Linked DNA regions of Homo sapiens: all the other regions are linked to region 2. Evidence: promoter capture Hi-C in 16 types of primary human blood cells and fetal thymus (Javierre and others, 2016). All regions are on one chromosome and are shown on one strand. Each heading gives the region's core, a stretch centred on a gene start or on the middle of the fragment in contact. The rest is flanking DNA. Distances are from core to core; before and after follow the strand shown.

What was found. The method cuts DNA at HindIII sites, captures the fragments that hold promoters and counts their contacts. A CHiCAGO score of 5 or more calls a contact.
Region 1: a contact is called between a fragment that was not itself captured here and the fragment with the promoter of BARHL2 in region 2, in 1 of 17 cell types (megakaryocytes). The highest score is 5.4, in megakaryocytes.
Region 3: a contact is called between a fragment that was not itself captured here and the fragment with the promoter of BARHL2 in region 2, in 1 of 17 cell types (non-activated CD4 T cells). The highest score is 5.1, in non-activated CD4 T cells.

Annotation. Positions count from the first base shown.
Region 1 is chr1:90,980,390-90,984,913 of GRCh38, forward strand. ZNF644 (zinc finger protein 644) reads right to left here. Exons shown (of 6, transcript NM_201269.3): 2 at 1,921-1,981. The coding sequence starts at 1,964. Among named protein-coding and RNA genes, the nearest start is that of ZNF644, 39 kb to the right of the region's middle. The HindIII fragment of the contact is 5,838 bases long and covers 1-4,524 here.
Region 2 is chr1:90,715,529-90,719,683 of GRCh38, forward strand. BARHL2 (BarH like homeobox 2) reads right to left here and starts at 1,774. Exons shown (of 3, transcript NM_020063.2): 1 at 1,043-1,774. The coding sequence starts at 1,667. The HindIII fragment of the contact is 6,796 bases long and covers 1-4,155 here.
Region 3 is chr1:91,140,226-91,144,803 of GRCh38, forward strand. No RefSeq gene overlaps it. Among named protein-coding and RNA genes, the nearest start is that of ZNF644, 120 kb to the left of the region's middle. The HindIII fragment of the contact is 1,943 bases long and covers 1,072-3,014 here.

The sequences.
Region 1 (4,524 bases), core at 844-3,343, 270 kb after region 2:
CATATAATCCTCAGCATTCTGGCATAGCTACGGTGAGATAACTGCATGCCGTGTTATAAGGTTTACTACATTTTATTCTGAAAGTGATGGGGGACAATTAAAGAGACAGGTAGAAGAAGGAAAAGAGTATAAAAAAGTTAGCAAGTAGGAACAGAGATATGGAGAATCCAATAAACCAAATCACTGAGAAAACATAAATACTTTGTAGTGTGTTCATACAATGGAATATTACTAAAAATAAAACAGCAATAAAAAATAATGAACTGCTGACATAGTCACAACATAGATGAAGCTCAAGAACATTATGTTGAATGAAAAAGCCACATACAAGAGTACATACTATATATAAAATCCAAGAACAGGCAAAACTAAATTATGCTGACAGAATTCAGAAAGATGATTACTTCAGGGGAAAAGGCTATTAGACTGGAAGCGGGGAAAGCACAAGGAACTTTCCAAAGTAATGAAATGTTCTATATCTTGATCTAGATGGTGGTTACACATATGAATGTGTATGTGAAAAGTCATTCAGCTCTATACCTCAAATTTTATGTTACCATATATATGTAAACTATACCATAATAAAAAAGAAAAAACTACATATATAAGCATGGTGAAAAATAAGGTCAGAATAAGTTAAACCAGTGTCATCCCACAAGCAATATCAAACATAGAAAATCAGAACAAAAGTTTTAACAGACACTGTATATTCAACTAGAAAACAAACCCTAATAAGACCTTCAAGTACAAAAGAATGGCTTCTTCTCCACTTTAAGAAGATACATAGGCAAGTGTTATTTCTAATAAATGCTACAGAAGTAAATTATTATTCCTAAAGAAAAACAGCCCACTATAAAGCAAAAAATAAAATTTTTCTACACAACAAGAGGAGGTACTATAACGATCAATAAGGTATGACAAGCACTTAACAGAATTTAGAGCACAATAAGTACTCTTCAAACTACCACTACTGTTATTATTATATAATAGCAATAAAAGCAAAATTTTGCTTCAAAACATGCCCAAACCACTGACTGAGATTTCCTTCAGTGCATATTACTGAACTACAGCACTTTTCATCCTAGACTTTTTTTTTCTTTAACAAACATTGAGATCAGCAAATTTTTGACAGCTGAAACATCTGGTTAGAGGGAAAACCAAGTTAACTCCAATTTTTTCAATGTTCTTTTTCCCTTGTTTCCATTTTGAAGCCATATTCACTTACCAATAAATAGTAAATGTATCTTTTTAAAACATGTCAACGGCTTATATTATTAAAAAGCATTCTTTCACATACCAAAGTACATGATGCCAATTCAATTTTTTAAAAGTGAACAGCCTTAGAAAGCTAATCAGAATGCTATATTAGAGAGGTCATTCAGTAGAGACACCCACTAGGAAAACATTAAAACAATAATTTACAATTTTGAATACTATATTAACAGAAAGAAATCACAATTTGGCAAATTTATCCCATTTGGGAAAGTGCTTCCTTAACATTAAAAATGAAGCAAAATTCACAAAAGCAATGACTATTCATATACTTTATCAACAAAGGAGAGAACAATGAAGTGACACAATAAATGTCTTACTGAAGTGGTCAGAGTTCAATAAGAGTGGCTGAACCAAACATTAACTTGATTTTCTAACATTTTAGAATATTCACTGGAAACTTGAATGCTTTAGTTAACCTCAACACAAAAGAAGGAAACTAAAAATTTAGTTCCACAATGTGATAGTTATAATTTTACTCCCATCAAATCAACTGGACCAAGTGTGTCAAAAAGTCAATTATTTGCATTTCAAAATTTTATTTAAAAACTCTTTGGTTCTGAACTCAACACCACATTTTTAAGACATAATTTTTTTGTATTATTCCTACCTTGATATGTACATTTAACAAAGCAGTCTTCTACTTACCTAGATTTTGTCTTATTAACATCTTGCTGCAAGAACGATCTCATCCAAAATTAAATCAAACCTGAAAGAAATACACACAATGACCAAGGTTTAATTTTTTGTTTCAGGCATGAATAACCATAGCTACAATACACTATTATTTTAAATGAAAAAACACAAACCAAATTATATTTCTTGATATAACATAAAAAAACCATTCAACCAGAATACCATCATTTTAATCTTTAGGAAACTATTGCTAAGTGCCCCCCAACCTCACTGCTTTTTTTGAGAAATAATAATCTATTCAAATGAGAAATTGAAACTAATTCTTTTTTTTAAAAAAAATTCTAAATTGTTTTCATTAATTTTAATAGTATGGCAATGGCAATAATTAAAATAATTACTAAAACACACATCTTTCTAGATCAGTATTTATTTAATATTATGTACATATCAAGACACACACCAAACAGCTGAAGACAAAAATGTTATAGTATTGGAACACATAAAAGTATATACACATAAAAGTATATAACAAAGTAATTTGTTAGAGCAACCACAGTAATTATCATAATAGCCAACACTGATTACTTACTAAATGCCAAGCATCATTATTCTAGAGAATAGAATGTATCAATACTCCCCATCTTCAATTTAATCTTTAATCTAGTATAAAGTGACTTCTACACCAACAATCCACTGAACATGCATTTGCCAAAAATATATCCACCATTACTAATTTTACCATATTTCAGAACTTCTGAAAACTCAGTATGTCCCACACTCTACATATCTCCTCCTCCCCATACCTGAAACTAGCTTGTGACTCTTCTAAATTCTCTATTCTTTAAAAAATAGCACCACCACACCTACCTCTGTTCTCAAGCTAGGTTACTTTAACTGTTTTATTTCCAAACTATCATCTCTGATTTGTCCTTCCTAGAACCACAGACCTAGAATTTTCTGCATCGTATCTAGAAAAGATGAGATATTTTCTCTGCCACCCAATGCCATCATCTCCCACCAACCCAGAAGTGGACATGGGGGCCTGTTAAAAACTAAACTATAAAATAAAAGTAAGAACATTAAAAGTCTATTATAAACGACTGAGTGGGATAAGCTGAACTATTGCCCCACAAAAGACTTCCACACCCTGATCCCTGAAATCTGACAATGTTACCTCATATGGCAAAAAAAAAAAAAAAAAAAAGAAGAAGTCTTTGTAGATATGATTAAATTAAGGATCTTGAGAGGGAGGATTATTCCGAATTATCTGGGTGGACCACAGTGCAATCACATGTATCCTTATAAGAACGAGACACACACTGAAGGCAATGAGAAGACAAGCGGAGAGGCCGGGCACAGTGGCTCACACCTGTAATCCCAGCACTTTGGGAGGCCAAGGTGGGCAGATCACCTGAGGTCAGGAGTTCGAAACCAGCCTGGCCAACATGGTGAAACCCCGTCTCTACTAAAAATACAAAAGTTAGCTGGGCGTGGTGGCACGCGCCCGTAGTCCCAACTACTCAGGAGGCTGAGGCAGGATAATCTTGCTTGAACTCAGGAAGCGGAGGTTGCAATGAGCCAAGATCACGTCGCTGCATCCAGCCTAGGCAACAGAGCAAGACTCTGTCTCCAAAAAAGAGGAAGAAGAAGAAGACATGGCAGAGAGAACTGAAAATGCTGCTTTCGTAGACTGGAAGGACATGGGCCATAGCCAGGAATGCCAGCACCCACCAGTATCAGGGAGAAGCAAGGAATGGATTCTCTTCTACAGCCTCCCTCCAGAAGGAACAAAGCCCTGCCATCACCTTGATTTTGGCCCAATAATACTGATTTTGAACTTCTGGCCTCCAGAACTGTGAGAGAATTAATTTCTATTGTTTTACACCAACCAGTTTGTGGTAATTTGTTAGAGCAACCACAGGAAATTAATACACTGAAGACAGCAAGTTCTCAAGGAGATAAACTGGAAGCACCCCTATATAAAAGATGTTACGAACTGCATTGGTCTGCTAGGACTGTCATAAAATACTACAGACTGGGTGGCTTACATAACAGAAATTTATATTAGAGCGAGAGCCTTTCAGGAATCAAGTTAAATAAGGTAACTTATGAGGCCTTTACCCAATATGACTGGTGTCTTTTTTTTTTTTGGAGACAGAGGCTCACTACAAACTCTGCCTCCCAGGTTCAAGCGATTCTCGTGCCTCAGCCTCCGAAGTAGCTAGGACTATAGGCACACACCACCATGCCTGGCTAATTTTTTATTTTTATTTTTAGTAGAGACAGGGTTTCACCATATTGGCTAGGCTGGTCTCGAACTCCTGACCTCAAGTGATCCACCCGCTTTGGCTTCCCAAAGTTCTGGGATTACAGGCGTGAGCCACCACGCCCAGCCTGACTGGTATCATTCTAAGAGATACAAGGTATGCACACACAGAGGGCAGGCTCTCTGCAAAAGAGAGATGCCTCAGGAGAAACAAAACCTGCCAACACCCTAATCTTGAATTTCCCATCTCTAGAACTGTGAGAAAATAAATTTCTGTTGTGTAAGCCACCCAGTCTGTAGTATTTTATGACAGTCCTAGCAGATCAATGCATATTTTTTAAAACTATATA
Region 2 (4,155 bases), core at 524-3,023:
TCTCTCTAATTGACCCACTGGGGAGGTTGGTGCACAAAAAATCGCCAGACCAGACTGTACATCTGTTTTGGACACTATTATGCTAATGCTATAATAGTAAAATGAGGAGCCAACATCCTACCTTCCAGTCAGTACATTTCTTTACCAGAAAAACAAGGATCAATAATAATAAACAATGTGTCTGTAAAGGAAGAAAAAGCTCTCCTGGTATGTTAAAACTTTTGCCATGCAAAGACTACCACATTTACTTATGAAATTGTCTGATGAGAAAATGGAAAAAGGGAGTTGAAGGACAATTTCCATTGTCATCTTATTTTTTTTTTAACAAAAAAGAGATTAATCCAATTTCATAAGATTTTATTTTTATAAATACTACCTCCTAAGTACTTGTAAGGGGCCAAAAATCTTTGTAGGATACAGATACTCAGTTGAGGCCATAGGGTAAGAAGGGTGCTTTTAAGAAACTTATTACAAATTTTTACGGGCTAACCACAATCTAATTTTTTTAAAGTTGCTCTGTTCATGAACTCAGAAATTTTTCCTCCATTAAAACCGATAATTCCTGTGATGATGTTAAGAAAATAAAGTGGGGGGGGGGTGAAATCACTTGTACTAAAGAATAAACACCAGGTTGTGATCACACCCACGCTAGCTAAGTGGTTTCTCTCTCCTACCTCCCCCCATTCCCATTCCCAAAGTCTAGGCTAGAAAAACCCCAAGTCCATCCCTTTTATCAACGAAAAGTATTTCCTGTCGGATGCCCTCCGCCGCCCCTCAACCCCCAGTAGATTAAAATTAAATAAAACAAAGGAAGGAGCTGGATGGCCGTGAAGGTTGTGGGGTAGAACAATAAACAGAACTTCGAGGAGTCCCCACATCGCACGCCCAGGCCTCCCTTCAGCTGCAGTCTTTTGACCGTCGCCCAGTCGCCCGAGAAGCTCCTGGAATCGCTCCCCAGCAGAGATCTGCTGAAGGCTGAAGGGGAGATTGGGAACCAGGAGGACAAGCTAGACGGCCGAGAGCGCCGGGTGGCGGGACTCACCGTGGCATTTGATGTCGCTCTGGGAATCCTCCCGCTTGTCGAGTTTGGTCTTGCTGTCCTCCTGCTCGAGCTTTGGCCTGAAGCTCTCGTGCACTGCGTTGCTCTCCTGCTTCGGGGTGTGGTGGGGAGAGGATACGCTGGTGCTGTAGGGTGCACATGCCGCCAGAGGTTTGCTGTCGCCCAAGATGTCCTTAATTAAAAAAGAAGACGTGGAAGTCCTGGGGGCCGAGGCGGCCGAGCCCAGCTGCTGGGGGGGCGGCGGCGGCGGCTGCTGTGGCGGCAGCGGCTGCTGCTGTTGGGGCAAAGGCTGCAAACTTTGCGTCGGGGCCGCGGCCGGCGGCGGCGGCTGCTGGCTGTGGTGGAGGTGGTGATGATGCTGGGTCGCGTCTGCTACCAGATGCGGCTCCGGGGGCTCCATGGTGACTGAGATAGGAGAAGAAGGCGCCGTCCCTACGGTATCAATCTCCGAACAGGGAGATGGGGTGGCCTGACTCCTAAAATCCGCGGTCCTGGCCTCACCGAGCGGGCGGAAATCTCCATTCATCATGCCTGGGCTGCCTGAACTGGCACTGGACAAAATCGTGTCTATTCCAAAACTCGACCCGCTGGCCCCTTCCATTGTCATTGCTACATGAGGTCCACGCCACTCCGCCGTTCAGCAGCCGCCCCGAACCAGCGAAGAAAGCTATCGATCGTAAAACAAAATAAACACCAAACAATGTTGCCGCCGCTTAAAAAAAAAAAAGTGGGGCGGGGAGAGAAGGAAGGGTAATTGGGAAGTGGCAATCTGTGGATACTTTCGACACAACTTTTTTTCTTTTATGCAAAAAGTAGGGGTGGAAAGAAAAAAGATGCGGGGGGCGGGGGGAGTTAAAAAAATTTCTGAGAAAACTCGGAACTTGCGCTCCAGGAACGACTGCGCACGTGGCGCGGCGGTGGCGGCGCGGAGGACCCAGGCGAAGGCGAAGGCGAAGGCGAAGGCGCAGGCGAAGGCGAAGGCGCAGGCGGCGGGAAGCTACGCCAAAGCCGCCGCCGCCGCCGCTGCCGGGGTCTGCCCACAGCCTGGCACCGGGCGGCAGCGGTGGCGGCGGCGGACGCGGCAGGTGCAGCGACCGCGAAGCCCGGGCGGCCGCGCGCCCTCGGAACTCCCCCGCGGCTCCCGAGGTGGCAGCCGCGCGCCACTCGGCAGCCCCGTAGCCGAGTTTCTGAACTTTCTTGGAAAGTTGCGGGGCAGACACGGCCGCAGCGGTTGCGGCAACCCGAGGAGGAGGAGGAAGAGGAGGACGACGAGAAGGAGCAGGCACAGAAGGAGGAAGCGGCGGAGACGCGATGCCGGGCGACTCCGGCCGCTGCCGGGCGCGTTCGCTTGTAATCCGGCTGCTGGCGGGCGGCGCCGACCCCCTCCCGTGACGTCACGGCCACTACCGCCGCTCCCCGCGCCGCGCCGCGCCGGGCCCGCGCCCCCGCCACCGAGGCCGCGCGTCCGGCCCCGCGCCCCTATTGGCCGCGCCCGCGCGAGCGAGGGACGCCGACGTGCCAGGGAGCCAATAGGCGCAGCGCTCGTGAGCCCGTCAGCGGACTCGGCTCGGACTCCGCTGCTCTTTTGAGAACCCGCACATCCCTGAGCCCGCAGCCCTGAGCCGAACTCCGAGTCCAGTGGTCCCGGTGTCCACAATCACGAGTGCGAGGCAAAGGGAGAGGGAGGAAGAGATCAGAGGGAGACCAGAGAAAGGGAACCAAAGGGGAGAAAGAAAAAAAAAAGTAGCAAGGATTCGCCCGTTTTCTTAAGTCAGAAGAGAGAGAGAAGAGGACGGGAAGGGACTTACCTTTAGGCTCCAGCGCGGCGGCCCTCGCAGCCTCCCCAAACGCGCGCGGGAATAGTCCGAAGACATTAAGAGCGGAGGAAGGAGATCCCTGAAGGAATCCACAGAAAAGTGTGTCACTTCAGGCGCCGGAGCCTTGCATAAGCGGGCGGGTCGGCTCTGGGCTCTGATTTCTCGCCCGACGAACCCAGGCGCTCGGGCTCAGCCCGGCGGGAGGCGGATCCCTGAGAGGGACACAGCCGGGTCCGCGTCCACCAGGCGCTCTCGGGGAGGACGAGGCCTGAGGCTCCAAGCTGGGGAACCAGCCTGGTCTCCAGCTGGAAAAAATGCCTGGCCAGACGCTTTCTCCCGAACGGGGGAGCTAATGCCCGAGGCGTTCTCTGGTGGCGAGGGCAGCCACGGTTCACTGCGGTGTCGGGCGGGCGCGGGGCTCAGGACCCATAGCGGCTGGTCTGCAGCCCGCGCCCCTGCCGCGCCCCGCGGCAGTCCGTCCACCTCTGTCCCCCGGCCCCTTTCGGCGAGCGCTCATTTGGAAAGGAAACAGTCACTGCGGATCCACTTGGGACCCGGAGCATGACTGTAACGCCTCGTTGGAGTGTATCAACTTGCATTATTTTCTCTAGGACGTCTCCAACCTGTCTCATGTTGAATGTCAGAGTAATGGGAAGTGCCAGTGACAAGACGGCGTATTACTCCTGATTAAGTGCCGTGTCAACCTAATTAGCAGAGTAATTATAAGGTGCTAATGAATGATTCAAAGTTCTTTGAGTTACATTTTACTCCAAATTACCATTTTAAGAACCCTATGAATCTGCGAGGCGGGCATCGCTTCCGTGGCTAGGTCTGGAATGATGTTCGAGTGGCCTTTAATGTCTCCAAAGGCTGGGCCGAAATCTGGAGTTTAGTTGCAGTTCTGGAGGTCACTTTCTGGGCCACAGCTTTTATCTGTTGAGGACGAAGGGAGGGGTGTCAGGGAGGCAAATGACCTCCTGGGACAAGCTCTTGCCTTTCGGTCGGAACTGCTTCTGTGTGAGCCCTGGGTCCGGAAGCGGGTAGCTGGGCGACTCATCCTGCCTGCGTTTTCCTAGGGAAATCGGTGTGTTTGACCCAGAAAAAAAAAAAAAAAAAAAAAAAAAAACAGCACTACTTGGAGGGTGGGTTGAGCTGTTTCTCATCGTCTCAGTGGCATTTTTCCTAGGGCTGTTCCGAGAGAACAGCGGGGATTGAAGGGACGGAGGCAAGGAGATGCACAATCCGGGCAGCTCTCGCTCTTCTCGGAAGGCGAAGGGA
Region 3 (4,578 bases), core at 793-3,292, 420 kb after region 2:
CAGAGAAGTTTCAAGATTGTTATCCAAGGATGTTTATAACAGCATTATTTATGCTAGAGCCAACTTAAAGCAACAAAAAGGTCGAAATATAGGGAACTTGTCAAATAAATGATGACAGAGTGATACGGTGAATGTTAAGAAGTCATAAAAATGTTGTTTCAAAGAATATTTAATGTCATGGAAAATTACAACACAACTTTGAGAAAAGAAGGACATAAAACAATGCATATGCATATATATACATACATAATAAAGTTTTTAATATGCATTTATATATTTTAAAAAATGCTTTAAAAGAAAATCTGGAAGAAAATAACACCAAGTTGAAATAGGAAATAATCAAAATGTTAAGAGCATTTATCTGTTCACAGTAGGATTATGTGTTTTAATATTTTCTTTTTAAATTTCCAAATACTTATCAATGTATTATATGCTATTAATAATCAGAAAAAAAGCTATTTAAGCCACATACATATATATATATAAATACACACACATATATATAAAAACACACACACACGTGTGTATATATATATATATATATATATACATATATATATTTTTTTTTAGATGGAGTCTCGCGCTATCGCCCAGGCTGGAGTGCAGTGGCACGATCTCGGCTCACTCCTACCTCAGCCTCCTGTATAGCTGGAATTATAGGCACTTGCCACCACGCCCAGCTAATTTTTGTATTTTTAGTAGAGACGGGGTTTCACCATGTTGGCCAGGCTAGTCTTGAACTCATGACCTCAAGTGATCTGCCTGCTTTGGCCTCCTCAAGTGTTGGAGATTACAGGCGTGAGCCACCGTGCCCGGCCTACAAAAAATATTATTTAGGTTAGTCTTTAGTTGAAAGGATAATTATATTCAGAAAACAAAGAACAGAGACAGAGGTTTTCCCTACTCTCAACCTATTGACACAATTACAGGGAACAAGCAGGTGACCTGATTTGCATTTCTGTTCTTTTTCCAGCTTACTCCTTGGGAGAGGTGACAAAGGCAAACCCAAAGTCAGTTCCACTGAAATCTTCAATGCCTTCTCTTTGTCATCATCATTGCTAACAATTAACAAGCTTGTACCAGGTGCCGGGCATGGTTGGAAAGGTTTTGGATATATTGCCAATCAACCCTCATAACAGACCTTTGAAATAGATAGTATTATTTTTCCTGTTTTACTGATGAAGAAGCCAAGGAATAGAGAAACTTGTTCAAGATCACACAGTTAGTAAGGGGTGGAGCTGGATTCAGACCCCAGGCAACCTCACTTGTTAGAATACAATGCTCAGTGCTACATGCCTCTGAGAAAGCAACATAGAATATTGGAATTTTGGAATTAGAGAAGACCACAAAAGTTTTGGTTTTTTGGGGGTTTTTTTGAGACAGAGTCTCTCTCTGCCGCCCAGGCTGGAGTGCAATGGCGTGATCTCGGCTCACTGCAACCTCCACCTCCTGGGTTCGAGCAATTCTCCTGCCTCAGCCTCCTGGGTAGCTGGGATTACAGGAATCCAACACCACACCTGGCTAATTTTTTGTATTTTTAGTAGAGACAGGGTTTTGCCATGTTGGCCAGGCTGGTCTCGAACTCCTGACCTCAGGTGATCCACCTTCCTTGGCCTCCCAAAGTGCTGGGATTACAGGTGTGAGGCACTGCACCCGGCCATTGTTTTAAGCAAAGAAATTTTTTTCACATCATACTGTGTAATTCCAACGTCTAAAACTTTTTTAAAGGAGGATTTACTTCCAGTCTAGCTTAGGTAGAGACTGTGCTTCTCCCTCGTTTCCTATTGAGGTCACTGTGGTGCCTTTGTTTTGTGCAACTCTTCTGGGAAACTATTGTCCCACTCCAATCACTTCTACTTAGAGATGAGAAACCTGGGCCCAGAGCTTTAAAAGAACCTCCCCAGGGCACCCATTTAGTATGTGCATAAGCCAGTGCTTTTCTAATACTACCTCATAGTACACATATATATTATTCAGAACTCCTTTTGTTGTAAGAAACAGAAACCCAACTCAAATTTGCTTAGACAGAAAAAGGAATTTATTAGTTCAAATAACTAGGCAGTTCAAGGACAATCTGGGTCAGATATAACTAGCTCCATGAGCCCAATATTAACAGAAGAGGTTCTGTTCTTCCTACCATTTGTTAGCTCTGCCTCCCTATGAACTGACTTCATTCTCAGATGGGTTCTCAGCACCATACACCTATACCAGAACAGCTCTAGATGTGCAGGATCCCTGAATGGGGAACTGAATAGTCACTATCATCTGTGTATTCTTCTTGTAAGGAAGATTTGGTTGGCTTTTATTTTTGTTGATGGTATGACTAAGTTAGGTCACCTGCTCCCTTGCCCCAATTTAAAAAAAAATAAAAGAAATGAACACGTAGTGGTCCATAACATGGACCACTATCCTTGGCACGTCTGATAAAAGTGAATTCCTGGAATCCAGGCAATCTGTTCCACTGATCTTTTTTCCCACCTATATCACACCATCTTGATTACAGTAGTTTTACCAAACTCAGGTAGAGAAACTCTTCTAGATGTTGTTGTTCCTGCTCTCCTTCTCCTTTTCTTTTTCTTCTTCCTTCTTCACCTTCTTCTATTAGATTTATTGATGTATAATTTACATATAATAAAATTCATCAATTTTAAGTGTGAAATTTGACAAGTGCTTATAAATAATAAAGTCTCATAATCATCACAGTCATGGTATAGAACAGTTTCAAAACTCCGAAAACTTTCCTTGTGCTTCTTTGCAATTGATGCCCTGTTATCACCTTCTAGGCCCTAGCGTCTACCTTCTTTCATGTAATTAGAGTCAGTATGTTGCCTGTTGTGTCTGGTTTCTTTCACTTAACATAATGCTTTCAGATTCATTTCTCTTTTTGCATTTATCAGTTTGTTCCTTTCTAATTTTTAGTGGTACTACCTTATATGAATATGCCAACATTCGTTTATTCATTCACAAGTTCATGTACATTTGCATTTTTTCTAGTTTTTTGCTATTGCAAATAAAGCTTCTATGAACATCTGTGTACAAGTTTTTGGGTGAAAAAATGATTTCATTTCTTTTCTTTTTTCTTTTTTTTTGAGACAGAGTCTCACTCTGTTGCCCAGGCTGGAGTGCAGTGGCATGATCTCAGCTCACTGCAACCTCTGCCTCCTGGGTTCAAGTGATTCTCCTGACTTAGCCACCAAGTAGCTGGGACAACAGGCATACACCATCATGCCCAGCTAATTTTTGCATTCTTAGTAGACACAGGGTTTCACCATGTTGGCCAGACTGGTCTTGAACTGCTGACCTTAAGTGATCCTTCTGCCTTGGCTTCCCAAAGTGCTGAGATTACAGGTGTGCACCACTGCTCCTGGTCACCTTTCTTTTTGGTAAATATCTAAGAGTGGAATTGCTGAACTGTATGGTAAGTTGATTAATTTTAAAGAAATTTCCAATTTGTTTTCCAGATTGGCTATACTATTTTACATTCCCGCCAGTGGCTTATGATGGCTCTAATTTCTCCACATTTTCCCCAGAACTTGGTATTTTCACTCTTTTTTATAACAGCCATTTTAGTGGCTATGTGGTGGTGTCTTATTTTAATTTCAATATGCATTTCCTAATGTCTAATGATGTACAGCAGCTTTTCATGTGCCTGTTTGCCATCTGTATATCTTCTTTGGTGGAGTCACTGTTCAGACCCCATTTTTTAATTGTGTTGTTTGAGTTATAGAAATTCTTTATGTATCATATTAGGTTGGTGCAAAAGTAATTGCAGTTTTGGGCCGTGAATTTTAAATCATTGTAAGTAGGATCAAACACATCTTTATTAATCAAAATAGGAACAATTCCAATCAACACATTTTTGCCAACGAGAAATAAGTTTGTTTTTTCCTGTAGCGTAAAAATCCATGCTTCGGAATTTGATGAACTCTTGGAAAGCATTTTCTGCATCCTGCTGGTTGTGGAAGTGTTTTCCCTGTGAAAAGTTGTCAAGATGCTTGAAGAAGTGGCAGTCAGTTGGCGAGAGGTCAAGTGAATATGGCAGATGAGGCAAAACTTTGTAGCCCAATTCACTCAACTTTTGAAGCGTTGTGGTCAGGGGTTGTTGTGGAGAAGAATTGGGCCCTTTCTGTTGAGCAATGCCCGTGTGATTGTTGCAGTTTTCGGTGCATCTCATTGATTTGCTGAGCATACTTCTCAGATATAATGGTTTTGTTGGGATTCAGAGAGCTGTAGTGGATCAGACCGGCAGCAGACCACAGTGACCATGACCTTTTTTTGTGCAAGTTTGGCTTTGGGAAGTGCATTGGAGCTTATTCGCAGTCCAGTCATTGATCTGGTCATCACCAGTTGTCATATAAAATCCACTTTTTGTCACACATCACAATCTGATCAAGAAATGGTTCATTGTTGTTGCACAGAATAAGAGAAGACGATACTTCAAAACGACAATTTTTTTTATTTTCACTCAGCTCATGAGGCACCCACTTATGGAGCTTTTTCACCTTTTCAGTTTGCTTCAAATGCTGAATGACCATAGAATGATCAACACTGAGTTCTTGAGCAACTTCTTGTGTAGTT